Linked DNA regions of Homo sapiens: all the other regions are linked to region 1. The links are contacts of gene promoters, found by promoter capture Hi-C in blood cells and fetal thymus (Javierre and others, 2016). All regions are on one chromosome and are shown on one strand. The core of a region is centred on a gene start or on the middle of the fragment in contact, and the rest is flanking DNA. Distances in the headings are between cores, read along the strand shown. Region 1 holds the start of ITPR2-AS2 (ITPR2 antisense RNA 2). Region 2 has its middle 33 kb from the start of BHLHE41. Region 3 has its middle 25 kb from the start of BHLHE41.

Region 1 (3,440 bases), core at 497-2,996:
TAGCATTTACAACTGAGTTTCCTGCTCTAGCCTAACCTGCCCTGCAGACCCCTGTAAGGCCTCCCCAAGTATTTCTGGACTTCCTCTAAGTTCTCCCACAGGAACTCATAAGTCAGACTATTAGATATAATCACATGTGGAATTTGCCTTATTCTTTCTCTTTCTCCCCCTCTCCCTCCTCAGCATCCTCTACTCACAACACCTTCTGAAGGAGCCTCAGTCCTGCCATGACTGGCAGAACCTATCACGAGCATCGCCGGCATCCATGCCAACAGCTCACCTGCAAGGCTTTCAACTCTGCTGACCTTCAGAGTGTCAGAGCAGTGCCGAAGCCCAGGACATGGCTGTCATCCCTTATTCCTCCTAGCTCAAATCACCCTCAATATCCTGATAGGAACCAAATACCAGGCCATCCCGCCATTTCAGTCTCTGTCCCAAGGACTCCTCATTAAATTCCATCATCATCCTTCAGCTAACAACCAAAAGCCTTCCTGAAACACAGCCTCATGCAAATAGGTACTGAGAAAACTTCCTAGCCCCTAGTTCTGCAAACACTCACCTACGCAGTTTAGAATCAGCTAGGTTACGTGCCTGTGCATTTATATATGCAGATAAATAATACAGCAGCTATACTACAAGTAGGTGTCTCTTCAGCCTGTTTACTTTAATTTTTACATATTAGGCTCATCTCTGAATGCCCAAAAGAGGATGTAACTGATATATTCTCCTGGCAAAAGAGTCAGGAGTCATTTCCCAGCTGAGGGGATGGGTTGATGCTCTTCCATTTTCTCTTAACCCTGTGCAAATGGTGCTGGGCCATAAGAGGACATCTGGGATTCAACTCCCACTGTGTATGGCTAAGAATCAGAACAAAGTATGATGTCCACAGAGGACCTTGAGCTCACAGGCTCCATTCCAGAGAGTAATACAGGGATAGTAAACCACTGGAAGCAAAGACTCCCTGTGGAATAGCTGCAGTCATCCCCCATGCTGGCCCAGCCACCTGAGAAGAGACAGTCTTGTTAGGTTGACTTAACTATTGGTCACCTGAATTTAATTTGGCTTACTGAATTATGGATGAAGGAGACAATAATCCCCAAGAGTTGGCCAATCTTTGTCATCAGGGGTTTTCTTATGTTGGTGAGAGTGTTCTAGTACCTTAATAGGCAGCTTGAGTTTGATGCATGAGTCATAATGAATCAGATGTACCAGAGTTGTTGTTTTGATTCAGCTCAGCAGTTATGTCTTTGAATCTGAGTCTCAGATGGGCACCTGAATAGACTCATCACAAAGCTTCATTGCAAATTATACAGTGCAGGGAAGCTCAACAAATTATTCTGATTGTTTCCAGAAAGAAAAAGGAAGGCAGGATTATACAGCATTTAGTGTCACCAATTAACAAGGTCATGGGGCTGAACCACTCATTCCAAAAACTTAATATCTACAAACTCAAGCACAAGGAGCCTCTTTTAATTATTTGGAAACTGTGGGCTGCAGGGAAAGCGAGTGCTCTCAGCCTTGTGATCTGAGCAAGGTTCAGGAGCTGGAGTGGGTTTGGCTGAGTCACCACTGGCTGCATGACCCCACACACATCACCTGACCTCCACATGCTTCAGCTGGCCCGGCTGTAGAGATGAGAAAATGCAGCCGGAAGGCCCCAAGGGGCAAAAACAGCCTTCTGCACACAGCTGCCCTGGGGCAGCTTCCTGCGGCACAGTTTAGCTCTATCAGAGGCAGGGGGACCCTAGTCTGGGCCACCAAAGCAGCCTTACCTAAAAGCCACCTTTGGGAAAGGGCCTGTTTCATGCCGCAAGTGTAGGAGTATAAGTAAGTAAAACCTTTTTTAAGCCTTGAAAATACTCATATGTTTTGGTTGCATGATTTCATTTGAATGAATTTATTCTTAGTCAGGAATCAGAGGCGTACACAAATATGTATGTTCAATCATGCTCATCATAGTGTTAACTTTAGTAACGAAAAACTGAAAATTATCTAAATGTTCAACTGTAAAGCATTGTACAACAAACTATGGTACATTTTTATTTTGGAAGGTTGTATGGCCATTAAAAAATCACTAGAACAGAATAATCAATGACCTGGGAAAATGTCCACCGTAGGATAGTATATAGAGAAGGACCGTAAAACAACATTGTTAGAATAATCCAATTTGTTTTACACTATATGTACTCCCAGGTGGATAGACAAAAGCCTGGAAGGTGAGACAAGAAATTATTAATGATGTTTAATCTCTGCGTTTGGGGATTATCAGCTCTTTTTAAAATTTATGGTGCTTGCCTGTATGTTCCAATATTTTCTATCACAATGGTCATGTGTTCTTTTTGCCATAAAAATCAATTTTGAAATTCCCCGAGTTGCTGTTAACTTGGCCTGTCTGTTGCATATGGGGCCAAACTACACGCCTACCTGTGGAGCAAATGAATACAGTGACTCATCTGTGAGCTGAGGCTTGAGCAATTCCAGCCCAGGAGGCTCTCCGGCCTGGGAACAGAGTGGGATTTTTTGTCTGAGGAGGCTGAGTCTGGAAGAAGGATGACTCTGTGGGTGGTTTCCTAGATCCTCAATGCACGTGGCTTCCGGCCTTGACTCCTCCCTTAAATTCTGGGTTGCTGGCCAAGGCTGAAGAACAAATTTGCCTCAGCAGCCAACTCCTCTATGTAAGCCTGACATTTACTCTGTATCTACATAATATCTATTAAGCAACACCTGATCCTGTTCACCAGGATGTATGTTCCCAGGGAAACCTTCCTTTCAAAGTTAAGCAGGCATTCTTGGTAAGTAGCCCTAACACCTGGGAATCATGCAGTTAACTTTCCAGGCCTCAATCCTACATGAGTGTCCTGGGTTATAATAGCATGGCTGGATGGGTGGTGATCTCACCATTTTAGCCAGTGGCTCATCCTGCATGGGAAGAAAAGTTTTAAAATGGCACAGCTTCCTTTGAGAAGAGAGCCATCTGCTCCATAATATATGGGGAAGGAAAATGGTGCTTTATGAGACAATCAGAGCAAATTGGTACATCATCATGGAGCTTTCAAGGTGATATTTTCTAAAACAACATAGCCATTTTTTATTCCTCTTACCAAAGCCAAGGGGCAGTCGATAATCTCAACATTTCTGCTCTCTGCTTCAGGTGTAGGCTGTCATTGGCTTGCTTAGGTCAATAGTGGACACCAGCCTTCCCTGAGCTGACTTATTGAAGATGGCCCAAGGGCCTGGCAGGCAGTCTGAAGTACAATCTAACATTGTAACAGATAAGTCCCAGTGTGAAAGAGAGTCATATTATCTCCATTTCACACAGAAGAAACCAAAGTATGAATCCTCATCAAAATACATTTTATTGAGCACATACTTTGTGTCTGGTAACGTTTCAGGCACTGGGAAAACAGCAGTGAACAAAATAGATCAAGTCTTTGCCCTCA
Region 2 (3,440 bases), core at 634-3,133, 230 kb before region 1:
AGGGCAGGGACCATGTTTGTTTTGTTCACTGCTCAATTCCTAGAACCTATTACAGGCCCTGGCATATAATATGCCTTCAGAAAATTTGAATTCAATGAAAAGGCGAATGTATGAGTCCCATCTTGCATATAAGAAGACAAAAACTCTTTGCCCAAGTCAAATTACTCACAAGTGAGACAACAGGAACACGAATCTGTTCTCACTGGCTCCGCAGCCTATCCATTCTCCATTCCTGGTGGCCTCCTCTTCTGTCTCCTAGACTTCGGTCTCCTGGCAACAGCACTGGTGCTAGGGGAGGCTGAGAGGGAGAAGCAGGAATAGAGACAAGGACACACTGATGTGACCTGGTCCCTTCTAACATGTCCTTCCTCTGTTTGTTCGCCAGTGCTTAGTATACGCTTCATGAGTATGCACTCGGATCTACTTGGAAGAAGACTGCCTATTTGCAGAAGGTCTTAACATACGGCTCCATGGCCTTTTCCCATTTGGGGAATGAGGTATTGAAGCTTTCAGAACTATGACTTCTCACCTGTCATCTACTTTCATGCATACCATGGATTCCAGCGCATGAACACTCATGCTGGAGATATGTGGTATGTGTATTTCTCCAGTGGACTCAATTCAGAATCACTTCTCATTCCTAAGGCAGCAATTCCATCTCTGTCCCAGATACTTGGGCTACGTAACCTGTGGCCAGCCTTTGATCCGCCCATGTGAAGCTGCAGGTCCATTTCCAAAGCCCAGGTGTCCTTTGCCTCCATTTCCTCTCTCTTGCCTGGAGCTACATTCCTCAACACGCACACTCCATCTGCTGCATCTGCTTACCTCCATCTCTCTTCCATGGCCACAGCTCCTTCTTATTTAATTTTTTTTCAAAAATCCATAAAGCATAATATCTCTCATTTAAGATAAACAGAATAAACACATTTTTTTGTCCAAACAAAAATTAGCTTAGCTGCCTTTCTTCACCTTACAATGTCATCAAAGCAAATTCTCAAAGACTGAGTGGCTCAAAGTACTTCGTAATGATTCTTTTCCTGATTTGTTCTGTTCATCATAACTCAGAGAAAATGCATTCCCAATAGTGTTTCCTCAACCTCCATTTACCATTTATTTAGAAAAAGCTCAACATTCTCTAAACCAGCTTGCAGTGCAGAGACTGTAGAAAGAGCTGGAAAGTTTGCCCGTGTGGAGAAAATCATTCCTTCTGCTCAAACTGCTATGGCATTCTCCAGTTTTCTAACAGAGCAGGATTAAAGAGGGTCTCTCCCAGGATTACACACTGCACCGCAGTGTGGGCTCTCCTCAGCGCCTGGTCATCCTATGCCCTCTGCAGGAGGACTCCGATTTGGCTCTACTGTATCGAGAGCTACCTGAAGTTATGCTCTTTCAATCTTTACAAAATCAGAACCTGATCTTGCGACACTGTTAATATTAGCTGTCATTAGCCCCAAAATTCCCATCTGTTTAAAGTTTAGGATTTGTTTTCATGCCACTAACTATCACTAAAAAAAAGTCTCTCTCTACTAAGAAACTCTGGTGCTTGGGAGACTGTCAAATTTGGGGGGGAAGTTCTGATAGGAATATTAATATTCTGATTTTAATTTACTTTAAGAAAAATTATTGGTATACATAATTAGTTACCTTCTTGTTTTTCTTTTGTTCTAGATCTTCATCCCAAGTCTGTATGTTTATTTGATCCCCCGTATTGAAAAGAAAACATTTGGAGCAGGCTAGATGAAAGCATAGAAAGAGCTGTGAGGAAAATAAACCAGATTGTAGGCCTAATTTTCTGCTACTTATTGTAGCTACTTACTGCAGCAGAAATTAGGCTACAACCTGGTTTATTTTCCCCACAGCTCTTTCTATGTTTTCAGCTAGCCTGCTCATGACATGATTTTTCAAGGCCACACAATAAGTAGCAGAAAATTAGCATGATCTGTAAAATAAAGAGGCTGGCCATGATGATACCTAAAATTTCTTCCAGTTCTGAATAGTATCACTTCATGCTTACTCCTAGGTCACCCCTCCCGGTTAGTATTTACTGCCTTTTTTTTTTTTTAATGTGTATTTTCTTTTTCTTTTTTTCTGAAACAGGCCCAGAAGATACACTGCTTTTTTTTTTTTTTTTTTTTTTTTTGAAGGAGTCTTACACGTCAGGGGTATTTCCTACCATGTCTTTTGTGGTTTTTGATGGTCACATGGATGGCTCTGTTGTATTTGCTTTATTCTCCTACACAGAGATCAATGCTTTTACATAGAGATCGCTCATGAAAGACAATGACATAGTTATTATGGTTCTATTTTTAAATTTCAGAAAAGGAGTTTTTTCACTGTCCCCTTCCCAAATTATTTATAACTTATATAAACAGTGTTTTCACTCTGTAGATTTTTTTTTTCAAATTCAGCATTAGTCTCTTAACAGGGATAATAGTTAATGCTATTCATCATCTAACAATGAAAACATTTATTGAGTACTTACTGTGTGTTGGAAATTCTGCTAGTTGCTATGATTACAAAGACAGACAAACCCTTGACCTTGTCAACTAAGGCTAAGGGGACATGTTCCTGTAGAAGTTGATGTGCAGCCAGGCACGGTGTCTCACACCTGTAATCCCAGCACCTTGGGAGGCCGAGGCAGATGGATTGCCTGAGCTCAGGAGTTCTAGACCTGCCTGGGCAACATGGTGAAATCCCGTCTGTACTAAAATACAAAAGATTAGACTGGCGTGGCGGCGTGCATCTGTAATCTCAGCTACTTGGGAGGCTGAGGCAGGAGAATTGCTGGAACCCGGGAGGCAGAGGTTGCAGTGAGCAGAGATTGCACCACTGCACTCCAGTCTGGGTGACAAGAGTGAGACCCTGTCTCAAAAAATAAATAAAAATAAGTAAAAATAAAAAATAAGTTAATGAGCAGCTCCCTCCTTTTTATGCCTTCTCTATCCCAAAACACTGAATCTATATTCACTGATATGAACAAATAACCTAAGGCAAAGAACATGACCTTTGTACATAAAATGTGTCTTCTGTTATGTACATGTGGCAAATGAACTTAATTCTTAACATGATTATCTCAGCTTCATGTAAGCTGCATGTGCAGAGGTGGGCAGGGATTGGGCCACACAATTCCAGGATGCTTTCTAACTCTAACACATCTGTGGTTTGGGATTATAGTCCAATTATATAGTGCTTTTAATAGTTGTTAAGAGGTAGAATTTTATTTCTTTATAAGGACCAGTAGGAATGAAGCAAAATCTACTAAAGCTTCATCAAAGGAAAATGTATTTACATGCCCAGCCATGTCTGTTTTAGATCCATAGTGGGAGACTGACTACTAACTGTTTGAGGCCACAAAATCAGTGGAAAGAAAACTCACTTCATTAAAATGGGCACATGCATTCAAAAATGAATCTCATATCTGGCTGTGAAGATCATCATTA
Region 3 (3,440 bases), core at 608-3,107, 170 kb before region 1:
GCCTTACATGGAGGCTATTTTGGGGTGACTAGCTTCTTCCCGAGATCTGAATTGGGTGATTGGCCTGGAGTTATGTTACTCTGAAGGAAATGAAGATGCTGCATTTTGTATTTTAGTTCTGGGCACCGATGGGGAGGAGATCTTAAATCGATTTGAATAAAATCTAGACAGTGAATAATCCTGTTGAATGCTTTAGAACTGAATTTTTGAGATAAAGATGAACAAGGCAGGCTTGTGTGATGATAAAGAACGGGCCAACATGATGTGCTGCTTTACAGAGTGGATGTAAGTGAAAAATTCAAGGCTTGGAGCAGGCCGTGATTCCTCTACTTAACGTTTTACGATTTTGGCATCTTGCATTCTATAATATTTTAACCCAGTTTCATCTCGTTTCAGGCATGGTTTTCTAAAACTATGTCTATATCAGGTGAAAACATGAACTCTAAAGACTGTAACATGGTGCATTTTTCTTTTTAAAAAAGCTTGCTTTATGATGAAATTCTCTCAGTTGTGCTTCTAGGTGACATTTCCATTCAGAAATGTCTTGAAAATAAATGAAGATGTTACGAGAATTACAGTGGACAAAATGCTGCATCTGACCCATCCTGACTGGCTAATCTAGCCCAATTACTGATCTCATCTGTATTATCACACTCTCAGATGTGCTAGGTGCCTCCCCCAACCTCCCCACGGCACACACACAAATGCCTGGATTTTTTAAAATCAGAAATTCTCTTTGTTCTCCATCACACATTATTCCTGTTTAAGGTTTTCAACTTGAAAAACTTCAAGCCATCTTGGATTTTAAAGTAATGGTAGATTTTTCTTCTGGAACATTTATCTTATGTGGAGAAGCACTTACTGTAAATTGGTGAATACAGAGCTTACTCCCTTTACCTGATGCAATAGATTTGATGAAGTTTCTATATTCCAACTCAACATCACTATGGCTTTTTGCTTGTGTTGCTGCGTTTGTAAACATTCAATAAAAGTCTACTTGTCTATAACTCTTGGGATTAGAAATGCTTAATTCCTTGTATTTGTATACATCTACCTTGTATTTGTATACATCTACAATTCCTTGTATTTGTATACATCTACCATACTGGTGATTTAGGGGCACTGTGAGAGCAAGAATTATTTTTAAAATTATCAAAGAAAGGTCAAATTCTGTCCCTAATGATTTCCATATTTAGCTCACTTTATTTGGGGGCAAAAAATCAGCTTCAGAGCAGCCAAATGCCAGACTTGAAGCCCAGCTTCCCCTTTCCCTAGTGCTCCCCTGTGGCAAGTGACTTCACCTTTCTCAGCTTCATTCTACCCATCTTTCTCTTATCAATAATCATATCCAGCTTATAGATTTCTTGTGAGAGTTGAACAAGAAATAAATGTACATGTCTGGTGCATAATTTGTACTCAGTACCTGTTGCCTGCTATCCACAACAGCAATGAAAACAATAATAATACCTTGGAAATAGTCTGCATGGAGCATGTGCTGTAATTTTTGTTAGCCAAATAATGGGAAAACCCATTACTCAATCACTACACCTTTTATTATACAGTTAACATATGTAGATTAGCACACATGTGCATACACACATCCACACATACTGCACCTGAAATTTTTTTTTTAATTTTAATTTTTTAGAGCCTTTAAGTGAACCATGATGCACCTGAAATTTTTAAGGAGAGGTTCTAGAATTTAAATCCTTTTGTACATGTACACATATACTCGCAAGGTCAATACTTCCTCACATCTTCTGAAAGGTAGGAAGAAACATGGGCACATAACTTTGCTATATGGGGTACTGTCTCAAACTTGCAGATGTTTCTGGCCGACTGAACACCATCCTAACCTAGGGCACCCATGGTTTATAGCTTCTTGTTGATTGTGTCAGGAAGTGCTCAAGGCCAAGCCGACATTAGCCACAAGAAAGGAAGCACTTTGGAGAAAGCAGAAATGGGTTTGACTCCGGAGCAGCTTGGGGGTGCTTTATTTTGCCTCCCAGGTCTCACACATCAGGCTTTCCACAAAACCTGGTAGCACCATCACACAGCTGGGTATTTTGACACTGAGAGCAAAGTTCAGTAAAAGGTTTCGCTAATGTGTATGCGATGCCCTCCCAAGTATGGCATCCTCACATTTCAGTCTCTTACCCAGTTAGAGTTTCACAGACTGATGCTATAAACTGGTTTAATTATTTTTTTCATTTAAGCTAATGATTTTATTTTCCCTGGAATGACTACATTGTTTCTTTGTCCTGTACATACAATTTATATATCCTTCAAAAAGAGCTCATTTACAAGTATGCTTTTAAAACAGAAGCCAAATGAAAAGCATTTTAAAATTTTTTGTGCAAATCCTTGTACATTTTTAATTTGGGGAGTCATCTGCATCATTATAATGTATTCACTTACTAAAAAATATTTTAAGGGAAACCTTTGAGACCCCACAGTTGAGAATATTTTGTCATAAACCAGCATAAAGCCAAATGCTGTGAGTGCTAGTGGATTTTGGAAGGAGGCATAAGGCTTTTGATTTTTTTAGCCCTCTCTTAAGACCTGGAAAGGGACAGTCCTTACTGGGATTTGTGATGTATTCTGCAGGAGGATAATTTTGCCTCTGGGAAAGTCAGAGCCAGGCCAGAATCACTCCTGGGATTTTGAAGTCTGAAGTCACTTGTTTGGCTCTGCTCACTGGAGAACTCAAGAATGCTATTCATCGGCCAGTGTGAACAGTGGTTGAGAAATGACTTGCTGTAACAATCATTTCCAGAATTTTTTGAGATACAGAAATTCTTCTGCATTGCTTTTCAGACACTGGAATGGCACATTTTGGTGGGATTTTCGGGTGGAACTTAGGGAAAAAAAGGGGCAAGTCTATATTTTAATATTTCTATGACTGTTCCTTCTCTCAGAGAACTCTTGAGTGCCCTGTTAGTCTTTTGAGCAGGTTTTCTTGGAAAAAAAAAATTGTGCTATAATGCCAGCATGAGATCAGCTTTTGTTAAAATACCCAGGCAAAACCACCAAACATTGCTAAATCCTTTTGGAGAGGCTAGAGAGAAACTGAAGGAAGTTACAGTTCATTCCAAAATATTTAGATTAGAACTGGCATTATTTCCCTATTTAGATCTCTTCTCAACCATAAAAAAAAAATCACATGCATTGTGTTATTTTTCTCTTGCTGTTACCCAGCACAACTGCCCCCTTAAAATCCTCAATTGGGTCCTAAGCTTTTCTGAGGCACCCTTTCACATACATTTTTTGCTATTGCAATGAAAAACAAATCATTTATTCATTCAACACTAAATACCTAGTGTGTGTCAGGCACTATTCAGAGTTCTTGGGAGTAAATCAGTGAACAAACAGACAAAGCTCCCTGCCCCCATGGAGCTTGCAGTTTAGCTCATGCAGAGGATCTAATTTACCTATGCATG

What was found. Contacts are between HindIII fragments. The CHiCAGO score rates a contact against its expected background, and 5 or more counts as called.
Region 2: a contact is called between a fragment that was not itself captured here and the fragment with the promoter of ITPR2-AS2 in region 1, in 2 of 17 cell types (M2 macrophages and M1 macrophages). The highest score is 7.2, in M2 macrophages.
Region 3: a contact is called between a fragment that was not itself captured here and the fragment with the promoter of ITPR2-AS2 in region 1, in 1 of 17 cell types (M2 macrophages). The highest score is 5.3, in M2 macrophages.

What each region holds. Positions count from the first base shown.
Region 1 is chr12:26,317,178-26,320,617 of GRCh38, forward strand. It overlaps ITPR2-AS2 (ITPR2 antisense RNA 2), which reads left to right and starts at 1,747. Exons shown (of 6, transcript NR_199072.1): 1 at 1,747-1,827. RefSeq lists an enhancer at 1,440-1,489. The HindIII fragment of the contact is 7,262 bases long and covers 1,292-3,440 here.
Region 2 is chr12:26,090,710-26,094,149 of GRCh38, forward strand. No RefSeq gene overlaps it. Among named protein-coding and RNA genes, the nearest start is that of BHLHE41, 33 kb to the right of the region's middle. The HindIII fragment of the contact is 2,758 bases long and covers 505-3,262 here.
Region 3 is chr12:26,148,233-26,151,672 of GRCh38, forward strand. It overlaps a transcript of SSPN not described here. Among named protein-coding and RNA genes, the nearest start is that of BHLHE41, 25 kb to the left of the region's middle. The HindIII fragment of the contact is 2,754 bases long and covers 481-3,234 here.